7 separate regions of the Homo sapiens genome follow, and all the other regions are linked to region 1. The links are contacts of gene promoters, found by promoter capture Hi-C in blood cells and fetal thymus (Javierre and others, 2016). All regions are on one chromosome and are shown on one strand. Each heading gives the region's core, a stretch centred on a gene start or on the middle of the fragment in contact. The rest is flanking DNA. Distances are from core to core; before and after follow the strand shown.

Region 1 (2,756 bases), core at 171-2,670:
ATGATAGTGGTAAATTCACTGAGGCAAGGGCCAAGCAGGGCTGCAGATGGATAGGAAAGGTTCTCTGGCATCTTTCTATAAACTTACGAGGATGCTGGCCATGATGATGGTGGCGGTGGTAAGGGGAGTTCCTCTGACTCCGACCTCATGTCTTTGGCAGGAGTTGAAATGAATAATAAAGCTGGGTTTATGATTAGATAGAATACCAGAGCAGAGAGAGCAGTTAGAGGGAGAAGCTGTCTTATTTTAGGAAGCATGATGACTTATTTTTTCAAAATCTGAATTCGATATTCCCCTTTGCTAAGAATTGGTGTGGGTTTTGTTGTTGTTGTTTGTTTCTTAACAAAATAAAAGAGAAGAAGATTCCCATAAGCAGAGCTTAATCATTTAAATCTAAAAAGGCAATCAGCAGTTGATTTTAGGGTGGCAGGGTCCTGCCAAGGCCTTAGGAGAAGGCCGAGGGAAACCTCCCAAGCCTTGGATAACTAGCCTGGAGGGTGTGCAGGTTTCCTCCAGCTTGGGCACATCTGCCTTGCCCCATAGAGAATGTTAACAAGATACCTGCTGTTTTCCCTTCTGCCTCTATGCAGGACAGCTTCTGAAATCCTAAACTGCACAGGGTGTCACTCCAAAAACAGACAGATAGTAGCTGCTAAATTAGAGAACCCAGAGGGCACAAGGTTGGGTTTTGTTTTTCTAGGAAAGAGTGTAAAACTGGAGTGTCTGACTAGTGCCCCGGATAGGGAGGCTTAATAGGTTTGGGGTAACTCATCCCCATGAGCTCTGCTCTACTCTCATCCACACCTGCCAGAAGGGGTCAGGGTGAAGCCGATGGACAGCAGTGCTGACCCGCATGCAGTGGACTTTCCATGAATAACACCCAAGGCTGACTACAGATGTTTAGGTGGGGGTGCCGAGGGAGGGTTACTTGGCTGACTAGAATTAGGGACAGCCGTGTGCAAATTGCTTTTTTAGGGCCAGAGAGGCTGAGGCTGCTGGCTTCCAGTCACACAGCCTACAGGACAGCCCCTGATTTCACAAGAGCAGGTTTCTGATGCATGATCTAGCCCCACCCCTTCTTCACAGGCAGCTGTACTTGGAAGCAAATGATTTAGTGTTCCTGAGAGAGGATTGTACAAAGAGAGTACTCATTAGAGGGGGCTCAATCTGTCAGGTGCTGTTATATTAGGATCAGAGAGTCATCATAAAATGACTTTCATGCTGGTCTTGGCTGATAATTAACTGCATGGCATCGCCTGCGTATTGTAGAGAGGCAAGGGTGCTGATTTATGCATCCGTTTAATTATCTGAATTGAAAGACTCTGTTCCCTGTATTTGCATCCACTGCCTGCGTGCTTTCTCTCTCCCCCATATTTCTGACATTTGGATTTTCCCCCTACTAATTGACATGCCTGTCGCCTCCTTCTCCTGGTGTCCATTTCTGGAACTGCTATTTGTATATTGCATGATATTTTATCAGGAAAAAATATAAAACAGATCTAATTTCATGAAAATGCTGTTGCCATAATGCTCAGGAGAACAGGGGGAAGAGAGAGATTCAAGTCTTCCTAATGTCTACCTTATATGCAGGTACATTTTACAAGTTCTATTGTATTCTGACTTATTAAGCAGTGCATATTTCTTTCTTTTACATTAGCTTTCATTGCAGAAGGGTGTGGGGAGATGAGACTGCTGGAAACTGACGTGGGATTGATGTTTATCAGGGCTGTAGGCTTCAGAAATATATTAAGCCTCGGAATGTCCTAGGTATGAAAAAGATAATAAATAACAGGTCAATTTATTATATTCCCTTTATCTCTATATTACCTGAGAGAGATTGCTATACTGCAGTGACACTTTCAAGATGCCCCAATCCTCCAATCTCCATGCATAACAATTTGAAAAAGGGAAGGTTGACTAAGGCTGGGATGTTCAGGATCAATTTCTAATCAGTTTCAGGTTTTACTCAAATATCTCATGCTGTAAACTCTTGAAATGAATGTCTTCCCATAGTGCGCCGTGAGCAGGTTCTGCATTAGTTTGTACAGGTGCGACCTAGGTTCCTGCACTATTACCTAGCTAACCAGATATAGCTGGTTGCTTTGCGAACCTTTCATTACCTGCTCTCTAATAATATTCTTTTCATCCTCTGTGCTATTTTTTCCCTCCCGAGGCTTGTGAGCAAGGCTGTATCACAGCCTGCTCTGCCTGAGTAATTCACTAAGAAAGTCCCACGCAAACCCATGTGGGTGATAATATTTCATCACTTAAACCTCTATGAGCTTGGTGGACACATACCAAAGAGAGAGAAAAAGAGGTGCAGAAAAATGGGCAAAGAGAAATTTTGTACCTCACAGGGAATACCTCTGAAATGCTGCTGGGTGGGAAGGATTGGACAGAGGAGAGACTGTGTAAGCTGGAAGGAAAGATAGCTGGAAGGGTGTTTGCAGCACATTTTCCTTTGCTTTCAGAATTTTAAAAATGTTTTGAATAAGTCAATCATGAAGGCATGGCAAGGGTTAAGCAACTAAGCCCCTTGTTGTTCCCTCCCCCTACACTAAGATGCAAAATGCTGGACTCATCCAAAAGTCCAGCATCTCAGATTTGTGGGTCTATGAACATTTTCAGTTAAATAAGCAACACACACATGCAGTGTTTCGATTTGGTTTTGTTTTCCTCACCAGGGTCCTGCTTAAAATATGTTGCTCTTTTACATATGGGCAATAGTTATGTCTCTAATGTGAATGTGGAAAGCC
Region 2 (2,756 bases), core at 257-2,756, 1.7 Mb before region 1:
CTATGTTTGGCAACCCCAAAGGTTTAGATATGAAGGTGAAAGTGGGTGAAGTACTAAGAGGGCAGTCCTCATTCGCACAAGATGTTTTTATTTCAAGCCTCCTGAGAATTTGGAATTTTCAGTAGTTCCTTTTAACATTCCACTTATTTCCTGTATTGATTTAAAGCTTTAAAAATTTTTATTTTAAAGTAAATAGTGTTACCGAAGCTTGAGCTGTGATTCCCAAGTGTGTTTTTTAGGATAAGAAGGGGCCTCGCGGAAGTTGCGGTGAGCCGAGATCGCACCATTGCACTCCAGCCTGGGCAACGAGAGCGAAACTCAGTCTCAAAAAAAAAAAAAAAAAAAATGGGGCCTCGAACTTTGGCGTACGTGAGACAAGTTAAACCAACGCCATCTCCACCCTGTTTTGCGGGGTGTTTTCTCTCCTTTCGCAGCTGTTCCACTCCCAGGGCTTGACTGAAGGTACACGGGGGGTAACTGCCTACTCCAGAAGGCCACCAACAGCATTATTTCCCTCGCAGTCTCCAGAAACACTTGTTCTCACTGTGACCTTTCGCTCAACAGGCAGGCAGTGCGGCGTCTGCAGAGCCGGAACCGGCACTGCGCGCTGGACGCAAGCAACAAGCACGACAGGCGCGCCACCACGGGCAGAGTCTCAAGCAACAGCAGTGGGCGGCACACGAATCCTCTCCTTTCTTTAACCCTTCTTCACACGGAGTCCCACCCTCGCCGGAAGCCGAGCGGTTTCTACATCATGCCACTTCCGGTGCGGCCTGCCGGCCCCTGGCGGGAGCGAGCACGCCAGTGCGCGGTAACTTTGTTCCCGCCTCTCTTGCCCCGGCCACCTCTCATCTTCGGCTTTCTCTGAGCGTGAATTGCGGGCGCGCTCCCGGTCGTACGTCAGGGCTGAGGGGAAAAGCCGAAAGAGCGAGGCGAGAAGGAGGGGTTGTGGAGGTTAGGGCCCAACCAGCAAGTCCCGTTGCTCTCCCTCCTCCTGACGAGGAGCGGAGAGGGAAGGGGAGGAGCGAGCCGGGGCAGGCCGCGCACACCAGGAGCCTCCTCGTGGAGGGGGGGAGCGGAGGAAAGGGGTAGCTCCGCCACCTCTGCTGGCGGCGGCGGCGGCGGCGAAAGAAGAAGAAAGTCAGGGCCCGTACCTACCGCCACAGACTCAGAAACGCCCCTGCCCCCATCTCCCCGGAAATAGCCCCCCGCCCAGCCCCGCACAGTCGCTGCCCCAACCGAGAGCCGCAGCCCGGTCGCCCCCGCCTCGCCCCGCCCCGCTGCCCAGCCCCGCGGGCCGCAGAGTGCGCGAGGCCCTAGGCCGGGAGTTGTTGTCAGGCCCAGGCCACTTCCGAGGCGCCTGCGGTGTGTCGCCGCCACCACAGGAGGACGACGTCGACGCCGAGGAGGAGGCGGTGGAGGCGTGTTGTTGTCTCGCCCACTCCCCTCCCCTGAACTTGCACCCAACGTCAGGGCGCGATGGAGTGAAGCGGCGACGAAGGTGGTACTTCCGCGTTGCGCTGCCCGAGCCGAGAGCGCGGCCAAGGCCGCTCCCCCACCCCCGGGGGCACTTGGAGGACTCGGGACTCCCCCGCAGGTCAGCGCCCGGCGCATCTGGTGTTTTCGCTGCCGAGGATAGGACGACGAGCGCAATCGGGAGCTCCGCCGCCCGGATTCCTGCTTCCCTGGGGCCCGGAGGCTGCTGCGTACCCCACTGTGACCTGGAACCCAGGGACCCGAGTCCCGACCCGGATTATCGTGGCGCTTTTCCCGGCCGGCTCTGGTGCTCGGTGTCCCTCCGCCGCCGCTCCCGTTTCCGGCGGGGGAGATGGCCAGGATCTGACCCGGGAGGAGGCCGCACCCGCGCCGCGCTCTGCGGCTGGCTCTAGGCGATGCCGAGCAGCTCGGACACGGCGCTGGGGGGAGGCGGGGGCCTGAGCTGGGCGGAGAAGAAGTTGGAGGAACGCCGCAAGCGGAGGCGATTCCTGTCCCCTCAGCAGCCGCCGCTGCTGTTGCCGCTCCTGCAGCCGCAGCTCCTGCAACCGCCGCCGCCCCCGCCGCCTCTGCTCTTCCTGGCTGCTCCCGGCACGGCCGCCGCCGCAGCCGCCGCCGCCGCGGCCTCCTCCTCTTGCTTCAGCCCGGGCCCCCCTCTGGAGGTCAAGCGGCTGGCGAGAGGCAAGAGGCGCGCAGGAGGGCGGCAGAAGCGGCGTCGCGGGCCCCGCGCCGGGCAGGAGGCGGAGAAGCGTCGGGTCTTCTCGCTGCCCCAGCCGCAGCAGGACGGCGGTGGCGGTGCTAGTAGCGGCGGGGGTGTGACCCCGCTGGTGGAATACGAGGATGTGAGCTCCCAGTCCGAGCAGGGGCTGCTGCTGGGGGGGGCCAGCGCGGCAACGGCGGCGACGGCTGCCGGGGGAACGGGGGGCAGCGGCGGGAGTCCGGCCTCCTCCTCCGGCACCCAGCGGCGCGGGGAGGGGTCGGAGCGCAGGCCCCGCCGGGACCGCCGCAGCAGCAGTGGCCGCAGCAAGGAGCGCCACCGCGAGCACCGGCGGCGGGATGGGCAGCGCGGTGGCAGCGAGGCCTCCAAGTCCCGCAGCCGCCACAGCCACAGCGGCGAGGAACGGGCCGAGGTCGCCAAGAGCGGCAGCAGCAGCAGCAGCGGCGGCCGCCGGAAAAGCGCTTCGGCCACATCCAGCAGCAGTAGCAGCCGCAAGGACCGGGACTCGAAGGCCCACCGCAGCCGGACTAAGTCGTCCAAGGAG
Region 3 (2,756 bases), core at 136-2,635, 1.6 Mb before region 1:
GGTGTAGATGTCCTTGGAGAACCCTTTAGAAAAAAAATCAGTTAAAAAAACACTTAGTAAAGATAATTGGTACTTCTTCCTTTAGCTAAAGGTTAGCGGGAATCACATTGCTGCTTAAAAGTTGTGACTTGAACCTAAATAATGTTCAATTACAAAGTCCATGCTTCCTTTAATCAAGTGTTCCTATTTTTTAAAAAAAGTACTTAAAGCAATTCGTTATTCTCATTTATTTATAATTCCATGACCACTGTCATCTCAAATACTTTTGTGTCTAATGTAGTAACTTTGCAGTAATTAAATACAAGCAGTGATGAAATCAAGTAATTATATTCAATTTTCCCTCGAAATTTTCACTTTTTTCAGGAGAAAACAATACTATAGTTTTAAAGTTTCTAGAACCTTTCTAGCTCATGAACATTTTCTTTACTCCTTAGCTCCAGGCTCAAAAGGGGTAGGGGGTTGGTGTAGAATACAGCAAGTTGGAAAACCACGTAGTTGCAAGTTGTAAACCACAGAAATCCCAGACATGCTAGAGATACTCTCTCTGTCTTTTGTATTTACTCTCACTAAAGGAATGGAAAACTTCCACTACCACCGATTTTCTTTTCAGGGAAGTTGGAGCAGAAGCCAGTGTAGCTCGAAAGAAAGATAAAAAAAAAAAAAAAAAAAAGAAAAAGAACTATTTCTTGAAACAAACTGGCAAGGCCTTTGGCAAACAGGAGGAAATGGAGAATTAGGAAAATCTGTGTACGGGTGGCAGTGTATTGGTTAAAAGCACGAGGGCTCGAAAACAGAACGTACGGCTCTGCCACTCTTTCGGATAATCTTCCGGAAGTCACTCAACTTCTCTAAGCCTCAGTTCGCTCATCTGCAAAATTGGGCTAACAATAGTACCTCAGAGAGGATTAGACAAAATAATCCACGTAAAGGGAATATTAGTACCGTGCCTGCCATAAAGTAAGAGCTCGGCAAACGCTGGCTATTATTATTACCTGGGGGTGGGTCTGCTGCTGCCCTGGGGAGTAGCCGAATTGCTGCTGGGACCCCGCGGGGGACCTGGAGTAGGAGCCAGGGTAGCCGCCAGGGGACGGAGACCCGAACCGGCCCCCCGGGAAGCTGCCGCCGTGTCGCGGAGAGTGACTGCTCCCGTACGGCCTAGACCGGGGCCCGTACGGCGGCGTGTGGTGCGGACTCCCGTACCCGTCTCGAGGGGAGGGCGGCCGTGGTCCGCCCCCGCCCGGGGTTCCCCGGAAGCTGCTTCCGCTACCCCAACCTCCTCCACCCGGACCAGGGTAAGGAGGAGTTGGGGGCCGAAAATTCTGTCGCTGCATATCAGGAGCCAAAGCCGAAAACCTCGCAGCCGCGTTCTCCCACCGGAACTGTATCAACCGGCCCTCCGCAGAGAACTGCTAGTCCTTTACCAAAACAGTCCTCCGACCGCAGCCACCCTACGGCACATCAGTTCCGGCGTCACAAAGGTTCCGCCAGGGGCGGCGGGATTACCTAAATCACTGACTTGGCGAGAGACTCAGTGGATTTAAGTGAAAAGAGGAAGAAAAGGAGACAGGAAAGGACGGACACCCAAGCCCAGCAACAACCTTTCCAGTCTGAGTGCCCTTGGTCTGACCGACAGACTAGAAGCTGGCCCAGCAGGCGACTAGTGCTCAGCCCCGCCCGGCGGGGGCGGGGTCTGCGGCGTCCGTGGGCGCCCCCCAGTGGCGGCGGGTGGCGCCGCACGGAGTTCGCCGCTTGCACCGGGACCGATGCCATCTGAGACGCACGCGATGCTGGCGACGCTGGCGAGGGTGGCAGCTCTGCGCAGAACCTGCCTCTTCTCCGGCCGGGGCGGCGGGAGGGGGCTGTGGACTGGCCGCCCGCAGTCAGGTACCCTCCGAGATTCGGTCTGGGTGGCTAAAGGGATCCCTGCCCCAGCTTGCCTCCTCGGGCGCCCTGAGGAGAGCAATTAGGGTCTGAAGTCTCTGCTGACCCCTTAGCGGTGGCTTTGCTCGCCTCCCTGCAACCCCGTTCCGTGGGCCTGCGGCCGGCCTGCCCCGCTCTGGCCGCCCAGGGTCGCCTCTGTCCCGTGCGTTGTTGTGACCGAGGGCTCCGTGCGCCGTGGGGTCCCGCTCCTGCGCGTCCCGCGGCTCGCGTTTGGGGCCTCTTTACTCCTGTCCTTTCGTCCGCCAAGTTTAAGTAACTTCGAAAATGCACACCAAGCCACATTTCAGAAAGGACTTTAGCCCGCTGCTTTGAATAACTTGACACTTCATGTACAATAAAAGATGCCCTTGTACAGTTACCTGTTGCAGAATTTTATTTAGAGGATGAAATTTAGCTTTACTACAGTGTTATAGAACTTTCTTTACTCCCTCTGAATTTGGGAATGGTAATCCACTATGAATCTTTTTTTTCCTTTTTTCTTTTTTTCTCTTTTTTTTGAGACGGAGTCTCGCTGTCTCGCCCAGGCTGGACTGCAGTGGCGCGATCTCGGCTCACTGCAACCTCCTCCTCCCGTGTTCAGGAGATTTTCCTGCTTCAGCCTTCCGAGTAGCTGGGATTATAGGCATGCGCCACCACGCCCAACTAATTTTTGTATTTTTAGTAGAGACGGGGTTTCGCCATATTGGCCAGGCTGGTCTCGAATTCCTGACCTCAAGTTATCCTCCCGCCTCGGCCTCCCAAAGTGTTGAGATTACAGACGTAATCTCTATGATTATGCGCGCGGCCCACTATGAATCTTGAAATTAGTTGCAGGA
Region 4 (2,756 bases), core at 94-2,593, 1.5 Mb before region 1:
TTACAGGCAGTCAGGATGTTCAGGGCAAGTGTAAGTATTTTCTTTGTGGTGTTCTTTTTACTCTGTTCATTTGGATGCTGGCATTTCCCCCCCCTCAGTCTTATATTGAATGGCAAATTGTTTATGGAGTCTGTATCTGAATTTAGCAAGAGTTTGCTGCACTGAGGTTTCTAGTCTGTTGTCTTAACTGCCTGATACTGTGATTAAGCTAGGGCCACAGATACCATTTGATGTTTACCCTTCTCCGTTGCCCACCAACCTGTCTTGAATTGATTCCAGAATTATTCTTCTTCTTCTTTTTTTTAAGACAGGGTCTCACTCTGTCACCCAGGCTGGAGTGTCATGGCGCCATCTAAGACTGGCTGCGACCTCTGCCTCCGGGACTCAAGTGATCCTCCCACCTCAGCTTCCCAAGTGGCTCGGACTACAGGCTCGTGCCACTACACCAGGCTAATTTTTGTATTTTTTTGTAGAGAAGGGGTTTTCCCATGTTGCCCAGGATGGTCTTGATCTCCAAACCTCAAGCAATCTGCCGGCTCTGGTCTCCCAAAGTGCTGGGATTACAGGAATGAGCCACCGCGCCTGGCCAACTTCCTGAATTATCGTTGTCTCCACACCTGCTTACAGTGCTGTTCCTCAGGTATCAAAGCATCCCAGCATGTTGTGCCTTTCTCCCCATCCTCCTCTACTTTCTCCTCTGTTGTGTACTGGTAACTCGGAATCTCTGAATGGCTGTAGAAACAGAAAAGTGGATGGGACTGATGGAAAACCCAAATTTGGGTTTCAGAAAGCTATCTGTTGTTTGACATGCAGTCTAGAATTAATGACTATACCAGGTTACCCTTGGAACATCTTGCATTTGTGGGCAGAAACATTTGGCTACTTGCCACGGGGTTATCCTGAAAAAAGATGGGCTTGAAAAACTGTCACTAGTGTCACTTGAATTGGTCATCCATGGTTGGGGAGTTCCATTCCAAGAGGATAATTTACACAATTTAAAATAAAGGGGGCCAGGTGTGGTGGCTCACACCTGTAATCCTAGCGCTTTGGGAGGCCAAAGCAGGTGGAATCCTTGAGGTCAGGAGTTTGAGATCATCCTGGCTAACATGGTGAAACCCTGTCTCTACTAAAAATACAAAAATTATCTGGGCATGGTGGTGTGCACCTGTAATCCCAGTTTTTGGGAGGCTGAGGCAGGAGAATCATTTGAACCTGGGAGGCAGAGGCTGCCGTGAGCTGACACTGTGCCACAGTGCTCCAGCCTGGGTGACAGAGCTAGACTTTGTCTCAAAACAAAACAAAAAAAGTAAGTAGAATAAAGGGAGTGAAAGCAAGAGGTGCTCTTCAAAATTATTATTTGCTCATTGGAGAAATACACGCATGTACTACTTTGTAGTAGTAACATTTTCATTAAACAATAGAAGCCTGGCTCCCACTTCTCCAAATGAAGTGGGGGGAAAAGTGTTGTAACTGGATGTCATGATCAGTCATCTCAATTATAAAAGTTAGGTGACATTGTCTCTTTGGGACGTTGTTGAGCGGTGAAGCCAGCTGGGCTTCTGGGTCGGGTGAGGACTTGGAGAACTTTTCGGTTTAGCTAAAGGATTGTAAATGCACCAATCAGCGCTCTGTGTCTAGCTAAAGGTTTGTAAACACACCAATCAGCACTCAGTAAAAACGCACCAATCAGTGCTCTGTGTCTAGCTAATTGGGTGGGGACCTGAATAACTTTTCTGTCTAGCTAGAGGATTGTAAACACACCAATCAGCGCTCTGTGTCTAGCTAAAGGTTTGTAAATGCACCAATCAGCACTCTGTAAAAACGCACCAATCAGCATTCTGTGTCTAGCCAAAGGTTTGTAAACGCACCAATCAGCACTCTGTAAAAATGGACCAGTCAGCACTGTCTAAAATGGACCAATCAGCACTCTGTAAAATGGACCAATCAGCAGCATGTGGGTGGGGCCAAATAAGGGAATAAAAGCTGGCCACCCGAGCCAGTGGCGGAAATCCGTTGGGGTCCCCTTCCAAGTTGTGCCAGCTACATTCTTTCGCTCCTTGCAATAAGTCTTGCTACTACTCACTCTTTGGGTCCGCACTACCTTTATGAGCTGTAACACTCACCACGAAGGTCTGCAGCTTCACTCCTGAAGCCAGCGAGACCATGAACCCACCTGGAGGAACGAACAACTCTGGACGCGCCACCTTTATGAGCTATAACACTCATGGCCAAGGTCTGCAGCTTCCCTCCTGAAGTCAGCGAGACCAGGATCCCACCAGAAGGAAGAAACTCCAGACATGTCCGAATATCAGAAGGAACAAACTCCAGACACACCATCTTTAAGAACTGTAACACTCACCGCGAGGGTCCGCAGCTTAATTCTTGAAGTCAGTGAGACCAAGAACCCACCAATTCCGGACACATTTAAATACAAATTAGTAAGTAGAATAAAGGGAGTGAAAGCAAGAGGTGCTCTTCAAAATTATTATTTGCTCTTTGGAGAAGAAATACACACATGTACTACTTTGTAGTAATAACATTTTTATTAAACAATAGAAGCCTGGCTCCCACTTTTCCAAATGAAGGGGGGAGAAAGTGTTGTAATTGGATGTCATGATCAGTCATCTCAATTGTAAAAGTTAGGTGACACTGTCTCTTTGGGACGTTGTGACCAGGCCATGTGAATGGAGATTGTTGAAGGATAGGCCTCTCTCCACCAGGTATGCCAATCACGGGGGTAGGGGTGGTGACTCTTC
Region 5 (2,756 bases), core at 172-2,671, 1.4 Mb before region 1:
ATTTCATAAAAGTTATATCACTAGGTGGTTCTACTTTGTTTTTCTTATATTTGACCCCTAAATGGAAGGAAAGCCGAAAGAAGAGTTGTCTGTGAAATTTATATTGGAAAGCAAAATCTTCAAATTCCTCTAAAACCTCTTTTCTAAAACAGAGTGCTAGTGAAAGATTTCACACACACATACACACATACACAATGAATCCTGGTTTTTCAAGAAATGTCTTTTGGGGGAAAGGGACTCCCCTATTTGAGATGTTTCTTTTTTCATAGAAAGTATTTCATTGTGGAAGGATTATGTCTTATTCTGAAATATCTAATGCTTGCTAAAAATTTACTTATTTATTTACTTATTTATTTTTTTGCAACAGTCTTGTTCTGTCGCCCAGGCTGGAGTGCAGTGGTGTGATCTCGGCTCTCCGCAACCTCTGCCGCCTGGATTCAAGCAATTCTCCTGTCTCAGCCTCCTGAGTAGCTGGGATTACAGGTACCACCACACCCAGCTAATTTTTGTATTTTTTAGTAGAGGTGGGGTTTCACCATGTTGGCTGGACTGGTCTTGAACTCCTGACCTAAAGTGATCTACCTGCCTTGGCCTCCCAAGGTGCTGGGATTACAGGTGTCAGCCACCGCACCCAGCCAACAATTTATTTATTTTGTAAAAGATCATGCAATCTTCTGTAGTTTAAAATGTCAGGTTTTACCTCTGTTATATTCCTCTATCATTCAAATGCCTTTTAAATAAAATGTACCTTTTTTTATAAAAAAAATTTATTTTTCAAAAATTTAGCACATTCATGGTAATGATCCTTTAGTTTTTATGTGATCCAAATAAAATATTTGCTTTAAAGTTTGAAAAACAATAGTAATGAAAGGATATGTTGGCTGGGCGCGGTGGCTCACACCTGTAATCCCAGCACTTTGGGAGGCCAAGGTGGGGCGGGGGGAGCATCATCTGAGGTCGGGAGTTCGAGACCAGCCTGGCCAACATGGAGAAACCCCCATCTCTACTAAAAACAGAAAATTAGCCATGCGTGGTGGCAGTCACCTGTAATCCCAGCTACTCAGGAGGCTGAGGCAGGAGAACCACTTGAACCCGGGAGGCAGAGGTTGCAGTGAGCTGAGATCTCACCATTGCACTCCAGCCTGGGCAACAAGAGTGAAACTTCATCTCAAAAAAAAAAAAAAAAAGAATCCTGGAAAGGATATGTCTTCAGTTTGAACTTGTCCATAAATTGCAAGAGAAAAGAACACTGGTAGAAGGATTAGGCAAGAGACGGTTTATTTTTGCCTGACTTAATGAAAGTATTGAAAATAACAGGCTGAGGCTGGGCACAGTGGCTCACGCCTGTAATCCTAGCACCTTGGGAGGCCGGGGCCGGCTGTTCACCTGAGGTCAGGAGTTCAAGACCAGCCTGGCCAACATGAGGAAACCTCGGCTCTGCTAAAATACAAAAATTAGCCGGGCATGATGGTGGATGCCTGTAATCCCAGCTATTCAGGAGGCTGAGACGGTAGAATTGCTTGAACCCGGGAGAGGGCGGTTGCAGTGAGCCGAGATCACGCCACTGCACTCCAGCCTGGGCGGCTGAGTGAGACTCTGTATCAAAAAAAAAAAAAAAAAAAAAAAAAAAGAAAATAACTGTCTGCATTGTTTGTTTATGATCTGTAGCTTTGCATATTTTCCTTTATTTGTAATCTCATTGCTCCTTGATATTTTATTTTCGCCATCACAGTCTAAGAAGGAGAGATTGGACCTTGGTCTTGATCTACTGCCATCTTGTACATAGATCTTTGAAATTCTCTATTCATTTGGTAAATATAATGGACAGAGTTAATACCAGGTACTATGAATGCTCACCTGATATTTGGTCCTTATGAAGGTGTAGATAGTTGTTAACTCCTTGTGTGTGCATGTTGGGGGATGGTCGGTGGAGCTTTTTATTCCACCATCTTGCTCCACCACTCTCCTTGACAGAGTTGGATCAGGGTTAAATTTATTGTCATCTCATGAAATCTAAATTTCTTTAAATTTTATGATCCCATTGGAATTTATTTAAGAAAAGTATAATTGCATAGTTGTTTCTGAGAGAAAAATAGAGAGGAAGAGATGATTTGCATGTCTCAAGAGTCAATGGGATTTATATTTAGAATTTCTTTTCCCCTGACATTTTTGGGTTGTGGATTAAGGTCCTTTCTGGGACCAGATACAGATGAAATTTCAGCCTGTTCCTTGTTTTCAGTTCCTTATGGCTAAGAAGATTGGTTTAGCCAATCTTAGTAGTTTTTGGCCTTCTCTATACAATGAAGATTCCATAGTAAGACCCATAGCAATGAAGCCAACCCAGGTCAGCTACAGCTGATTTATAGGTATCTTTTGGTTACCTATAAATAGTGCTGTTGCTGGTCGAAGCAGAATAAATAAATGAGATCAGAGACATTATTTGAGGAAAATGCTTAAAAATTTTCTCATCTAAATAATTTTACATTGGAGTTACATAGGGTGAGGAATGAGGATGCTGGTGTATTTCCTTTTTTGGGGAGAGAAAGATTCAAGCCCTTTGTTTGGACTGGGAATGAGGATTCTCAATGGTCAGTAGTCCTTGTTACAGAAACAGTTATTTGTTGGCATCTTTCTAAAGAGTCTTGCAAATGTAATCACATTTGGAATACATAATTTTTTATTTTTATTTTTTACTTTTTTGTCTGAGACAGAGTCTCACTCTGTCACCCAGGCTGAAGGGCAGTGGTGCCATCTCG
Region 6 (2,756 bases), core at 157-2,656, 1.4 Mb before region 1:
CTGTACAAATGAAGGTCTTTATCAGTTCTGATTCAAGCTTTACATTGCTGGTGGAGTTGTACTTATTTTTAATTTCAGCAGTTTTATATTTTAGGTGGATTTTCATAGGGACAGGGGATTAACACATTGTTGAGAGACAATTGTAAGAAATTTCAGCCTTGCTCTAGAGTCTGTATTTTTTAAAGTTCCAGAAACACTGTCTTCTTGGTGGGATAGTTATTTTCAGTTCAATCAGTTCTTCCTGAAACTGAACCACACTTACAGGATAGACGACAATTCAGATGCATTTTGAGGTTTTCTTTAAAGGAAGCGGCAGACACTTAAAGCATGATTTGAAATCATGTAAGTCATTGAGTCCTTTATGAAATGATGATTTCCTTTCCACCAGACAGCTCTGTAATTCTTTTATATCTTTGATTCTATTGAACTCAAGCCAGGTCACAATAGTAAAATGAGTACATTCTCCTTTTGCCTTCTGCTAAGTCTGTAGGCCCAGTTTGAGTTTGAAATTTGTACTTCATTAAGTAAAGACATACTTTTAAAATTCTGTGACTGTAGTTTCTGGTGCGGTATAGTCAGATATGTTTTGTCAGGTTTAATAATGCACTATCTTATCTTGTAAGCCCCTGAGGGAAAATCAGGTGCATCCATCTTTCAGTCTTTTAACTACAGAAGCTCTTGACTTGAGATATCAGCTCAATGAATCTGAAATTTAGTTTATTCTGATACACATTCTACTTCTGTATTTTCTAACTATCCCCAAGCTGTTGCAGATTGGTATGTAACGTCATGAAAAAAACCATATTGGTCACTTCATCATATTATTTAATGAAACCGATCTAGAAGACAGGTTCAGAGCTGTATTTAGAGCATAAGTTTTCTGTCAATGGAGGCTGGAATTAATGATTTGCATTTTTGTTTGTTTAAAAGTGTTGAAAACTTTTTTTTTAATTGTATGTAGTCATATTTGGTAATGAGAATTTTTCTGTGTTTATACCATACTTAAGATTTTTATGGCAGCTTGTTAGGTCTTATTGTCACTATGAAAAAGTGAGTATTAACCATTTTGTTGTTGTTGCTACTGTTAAAAGTCTCAAGTTGAGTGTGCTTTGACGCTCAGGAGGACTCAACTTGGTCTCTAAGCTGTACCTTGGTCCTTCACAACACCAGTGCTCAACGTTGGCTGCCCATTGGAATCACCTGTGGAGTTTTCAGAATTTCTGCTGTCTCTTTCCCATCCCCAGAGATTCTAATTTAACTGGTATAGGGCATGGTCTGTGTACTGAGGTTTTAAAAATCTCTCCGGATGATTCTGATGGGCAGCAAAGTTTGAAAACTGCTGTCCCACAGAATAATTCATGAACTTATGATGTATAAAAGTACCAGTGAGCTTTTTGAAAAACTGATTCCTGGGCCTCACACGCAAGCATTGAGATCCACTCAGTCTGGGGCAGGATTCAGGAATCTGCATTTTGGAGTAGCACCCCAGATAACTCTGATGCAGTAGACCCAGGGGTTACAATTTAAAAAGAAAGTGTGTTTTAGGGTAAACCTGCAAGGTGTGTCTCTTATGTAGAGAGGCTTCTTGGATGGTTCCACTAATACTATCATTTGATACTCCTAAAATTAAATGGCATTGACTTTCCCCAAATAATTTTTAATCAAAACTGAAGTTGTAATTGTAGCAACTTTCTTGGCTTGTCTGGGGGATAGTTCTGTACTTAATGTCTTTGCTCTACAGGCTACCTCAGGACAGGGGACTAAAAGAACATACAGTGATTTAGAAAGAGCTTTTTTTTTTGTTTTTTTGAGTTGGAGTCTCGCTCTGTTGCTCAGACTGGAGTGCAGTGGCACAATCTTGGTTCACTGCAACCTCCGCCTCCCAGATTCAAGCGATTCACCTGCCTCAGCCTCCCTAGTAGCTGGGATTACAGGCACGCACTATGGCGCCCCACTATTTTTTGTATTTTTAGTAGAGACGGGGTTTCACCATGCTGGCCAGGCTGGTCTTGCCTACTCCTGACCTCAGGTGATCCGCCTGCCTCAGCCTCCCAAAGTGCTGGGATTACAGGCTTGAGCTACCGCGTCTGGCCTAGACAGAACTTTAAGGCTTGATAACTGTGTGGATACAATGAACACAACTGAGGCAACGAAGATATGGACTAAGTGAATAACAGCAGCTTACCTGTGTAACTGGTAGTCTTTAGGAGTGTTTAGGAGCTCTTCATCTGAAGCCCTTGTCCTGAAAGGAAGCAGCAGCAGAGAGGGACATTCCAATGGCCATAGACATGAACCTCAAGTTAGATTCCGCTGGTCACATATTGGTTCCAGAGTTTACATACCAGTCTTTTAAATCATATTCACTTCCCATAGATGCGTTATGATGATGAAGATGATGATGATTTGAGACGGAGTTTCACTCTGCCACCCAGGCTGGAGTGCAGTGGCATTGTGATCTCGGCTCACTGCAACCTCCGCTTCTCAGGTTCAAGTGATTCTCCTGCCTCTGCCTCCCAAGTAGCTGGGATTACAGGTGCCCACCACCACGCCCGGCTAGTTTTTGTACTTTTAGTAGAGATGGGGTTTCACCATGTTGGTCAGGCTGGTCTCGGCCTCCTGACCTCAGGTGGTCCGCACACCTCAGCCTCCCAAAGTGCTGGGATTACAGGTGTGAGCCACTGTGCCTGGCCCTGTTGATGCATTATTAATCTCGGCACTTTGAAAAATGAAAATTTAAAAGCTAGCTTAGCTGTCAG
Region 7 (2,756 bases), core at 188-2,687, 1.4 Mb before region 1:
TTTGGTGTGGATGTCCTTTCTGTTTGTTAGTTTTCCTTCTAACAGTCAGGATCCTCAGCTGCAGGTCTGTTGGAGTTTGCTAGAGGTCCACTCCAGACCCTGCTTGCCTGGGTATCAGCAGTGGAGGCTACAGAACAGTGAACATTGCTGAACAGCAAATGTTACTGCCTGATTGTTCCTCTGGAAGCTTTGTCTCAGAGGGGTACCCAGCCGTGTGAGGTGTCAGTCTGCCCCTACTGGGGGGTACCTCCCAGTTAGGCTACTCAGGGATCAGGGGCACACTTGAGGAGGCAGTCTTAGCGTTCTCAGTTCTCAAACTCTGTGTTGGGAGAACCACTGTTCTCTTCAAAGCTGTCAGACAGGGACATTTAAGTCTGCAGGGGTTTCTCTGCCTTTTGTTTGGCTATGCCCTGCCCCCAGAGGTGGAGTCTACAGAGGCAGGCAGGCCTCCTTGAGCTGCGGTGGGCTCCACCTGGTTCGAGCTTCCTGGCCGCTTTGTTTACCTACTCAAGCCTCAGCAATGGTGGGCGCCCCTCTCCTAGCCTCACTGCCATCTTGCAGTTTGATCTCAGACCGCTGTGCTAGCAATGAGTGAGGCTCCATGGGCGTGGGACCCTCTGAGCCAGGTGTGGGATATAATCTCCTGGTGTGCCGTTTGCTAAGACCATTGGAGAAGTGCAGTATTAGGGTGGGAGTGACCCGATTTTCCAGGTGCCATCTGTCACAGCTTCGCTTGGCTAGGAAAGGGTATTCCCTGACCCCTTGCGCTTCCTGGGTGAGGTGATGCTTCACCTTGCCTTGGCTCACGCTGGGTGGGCTGCACCCACTGTCCTGCACTCACTGTCCAACAAGTCCCAGTGAGATGAACCTGGTACCTCAGTTGGAAATGCAGAAATCACCCGTCTTCTGCATCACTTACGCTGGGAGCTGTAGACTGGAGCTGTTGCTCTTTGGCCATCTTGGAACCGCCCTTTTTTGCCCAGTGGCTCTTAAACTTTCTTGTTGCCTGTAATTCTTTTGAGGAACTGATGAAATCTATGAAAGCCTTTCTTAGAAAAGTACACATATTGATATACATGCATGATTTTTGCCTGGGATATCAGGAGCTTCTTAGACTTCCTAGAACTCATTCCTGGACCCTAGGTTAAGATTATCTGCCAGAAACCAACTCAATATGGTAAGGATAGTGAAATTACATTGGGAACACTGGAAAATTAGAACAAATAGTAGTAAGTAGTATGAGAGAAATCACACTATACAACTGAAAAAAGATTGTGCATAAGTATCTGCCACATAGGGCAAGAAGTGTTAGAATTACATAAGGAATGGAATTATACTGGACTTGGGCCTAGGACTGTGCAGGGATTGGTACAGGAAATAATCTGTGATTATTGTAATAAGGCTCACAACTCAATTTCACTTAACCTTCTAAAGGGAAATAAAGGCCAAAAATAAAAAAAAAACCCTATCACATTATTCCTCAATTTAAGAGAATGGAACTATGATCAAATCAACGTGTGCATTAAGTTAAAAAATGAAAGTAATATTTTTAAAAGTCTGTAACTTGTAAGAAATCTGGAAATGCTTTAAATACATTAATAGAAGGGCAGGGGAATACGTCATATCAAAGATTAGGAGCTCATATAAAGACTTTTGCATCCATTTCATAAAGTAAAAGAAGCAAAAGTAGGGGGAAAAAGTAGGCAAAAGATTGTTCAAGTGAGAACAGGGAAGACCTCAAAGTGTGACAGGTCAGGTGTAAATAAGGAGCCAGTCCGGCTATAAAGGAATTCAAGACACAGCACAAAAAGGACTGCAATTCAGAAATAAAAGCGTTTTTATACATGAAAGATAGAAGGTCGACTGGAGAATCAATGAGACTGCTTGATGATCAGGGTGCTCACGGGGAAAAAAGGAGATCTGGAAACTCAATGAATTCTTCACTTTGGTCTTTGTTGAAATGTAGAACTTTCCACTGTCATCATGTCTTTTGAAGCAAAGAGGTGAGGTATGTAGTATTAGATCAAATAGTGATAAGGGAACAGGATGTTCTGCCTGATTGGCCTGATGGATATAAGTAAATTGCTGAAACTTTATGACATCCATTATGAGGGTCTGAAGAAACTCAAGGGAATAAATGGATCTAAATGTGAAATAAGTTATTGCACTCACTCTTCAGTATTAGTGAATTCTTGTTTACATTCTAATGAAACCTACTGAGGAGACCCTACAATCTATTGACTGTTGAATCTCATTCATATTAGTAAACTCCAGAAATTGTAGGATCATTGACCATTTTGTATAATGAATGGAGAAAAGCATCCTGTTTTTTATAATATACTTGAGCTATTTGAAAGGGTAAACAAGCACCAGGAAAAAAGCAAGAAACAATTTGTTTAGACTTTCAAGGAGTCAAAAAGTTTCACAATGCTATTCCAAATTGTGTTACCATGGTATTAGGAGGGAAATTTCACCACAGGTAGGTATTAATAGAGAAAAAAAAAGTGTAGAATGTATGCGCCTGCTGTTGAGGGAGATGTGTAAACAGTGAGGTCCCTCTTGGGATTTCTGCTGGGCCTCTTTATTAAACATGTTTATAGATAATCTGAAAGGGCAGGCACACAATGAAGTTTCTAAAGGTACAGGATTTAAGCTCTTTTGGCCAGTAAAATTATAAATCAACTGGAATAAGCTTTTGAAAGATGGCATAAATGGACAAGAAAGTGGCGGGGAGGATCCAGTACTGTGAGAAGTGC

What was found. The method cuts DNA at HindIII sites, captures the fragments that hold promoters and counts their contacts. A CHiCAGO score of 5 or more calls a contact.
Region 2: a contact is called between the fragment with the promoter of CDK13 here and the fragment with the promoter of INHBA-AS1 in region 1, in 1 of 17 cell types (neutrophils). The highest score is 6.0, in neutrophils.
Region 3: the fragment with the promoter of MPLKIP here is called in contact with the fragment with the promoter of INHBA-AS1 in region 1 in 2 of 17 cell types (neutrophils and monocytes); the score reaches 8.5 in neutrophils.
Region 4: a fragment that was not itself captured here is called in contact with the fragment with the promoter of INHBA-AS1 in region 1 in 2 of 17 cell types (megakaryocytes and naive CD4 T cells); the score reaches 5.9 in megakaryocytes.
Region 5: a fragment that was not itself captured here is called in contact with the fragment with the promoter of INHBA-AS1 in region 1 in 2 of 17 cell types (monocytes and fetal thymus); the score reaches 6.1 in monocytes.
Region 6: a contact is called between a fragment that was not itself captured here and the fragment with the promoter of INHBA-AS1 in region 1, in 1 of 17 cell types (neutrophils). The highest score is 6.3, in neutrophils.
Region 7: a fragment that was not itself captured here is called in contact with the fragment with the promoter of INHBA-AS1 in region 1 in 1 of 17 cell types (total B cells); the score reaches 5.8 in total B cells.

The regions. Positions count from the first base shown.
Region 1 is chr7:41,692,499-41,695,254 of GRCh38, forward strand. INHBA-AS1 (INHBA antisense RNA 1) reads left to right here and starts at 1,421. Exons shown (of 4, transcript NR_027118.2): 1 at 1,421-1,590. The region is part of intron 2 of INHBA (inhibin subunit beta A); the gene reads right to left. The HindIII fragment of the contact is 8,944 bases long and covers 1-2,756 here.
Region 2 is chr7:39,948,750-39,951,505 of GRCh38, forward strand. It overlaps CDK13 (cyclin dependent kinase 13), which reads left to right and starts at 1,507. Exons shown (of 14, transcript NM_003718.5): 1 at 1,507-2,756. The coding sequence starts at 1,893. It overlaps CDK13-DT (CDK13 divergent transcript), which reads right to left and starts at 670. Exons shown (of 1, transcript NR_158201.1): 1 at 1-670. RefSeq lists enhancers at 1-875, 375-504, 575-824, 876-1,794, 1,295-1,574 and 2 more and silencers at 1,065-1,294, 2,085-2,374, 2,445-2,504. The HindIII fragment of the contact is 3,453 bases long and covers 206-2,756 here.
Region 3 is chr7:40,133,237-40,135,992 of GRCh38, forward strand. It overlaps MPLKIP (M-phase specific PLK1 interacting protein), which reads right to left and starts at 1,386. Exons shown (of 2, transcript NM_138701.4): 1 at 993-1,386; 2 at 1-23. The coding sequence starts at 1,331. It overlaps SUGCT (succinyl-CoA:glutarate-CoA transferase), which reads left to right and starts at 1,769. Exons shown (of 14, transcript NM_001193313.2): 1 at 1,769-1,884. The coding sequence starts at 1,785. RefSeq lists silencers at 1,112-1,181, 1,642-1,841 and an enhancer at 1,392-1,461. The HindIII fragment of the contact is 4,548 bases long and covers 1-2,756 here.
Region 4 is chr7:40,216,924-40,219,679 of GRCh38, forward strand. All of the region lies in intron 6 of SUGCT (succinyl-CoA:glutarate-CoA transferase), which reads left to right. Among named protein-coding and RNA genes, the nearest start is that of SUGCT, 83 kb to the left of the region's middle. The HindIII fragment of the contact is 3,437 bases long and covers 1-2,756 here.
Region 5 is chr7:40,254,058-40,256,813 of GRCh38, forward strand. The region is part of intron 7 of SUGCT (succinyl-CoA:glutarate-CoA transferase); the gene reads left to right. The region is part of intron 2 of LOC105375245 (a long non-coding RNA gene); the gene reads right to left. Among named protein-coding and RNA genes, the nearest start is that of SUGCT, 120 kb to the left of the region's middle. The HindIII fragment of the contact is 4,040 bases long and covers 1-2,756 here.
Region 6 is chr7:40,292,157-40,294,912 of GRCh38, forward strand. The region is part of intron 8 of SUGCT (succinyl-CoA:glutarate-CoA transferase); the gene reads left to right. It overlaps LOC105375245 (a long non-coding RNA gene), which reads right to left. Exons shown (of 3, transcript XR_927196.3): 2 at 2,186-2,242. Among named protein-coding and RNA genes, the nearest start is that of SUGCT, 160 kb to the left of the region's middle. The HindIII fragment of the contact is 2,743 bases long and covers 36-2,756 here.
Region 7 is chr7:40,338,922-40,341,677 of GRCh38, forward strand. All of the region lies in intron 9 of SUGCT (succinyl-CoA:glutarate-CoA transferase), which reads left to right. Among named protein-coding and RNA genes, the nearest start is that of SUGCT, 210 kb to the left of the region's middle. The HindIII fragment of the contact is 2,505 bases long and covers 186-2,690 here.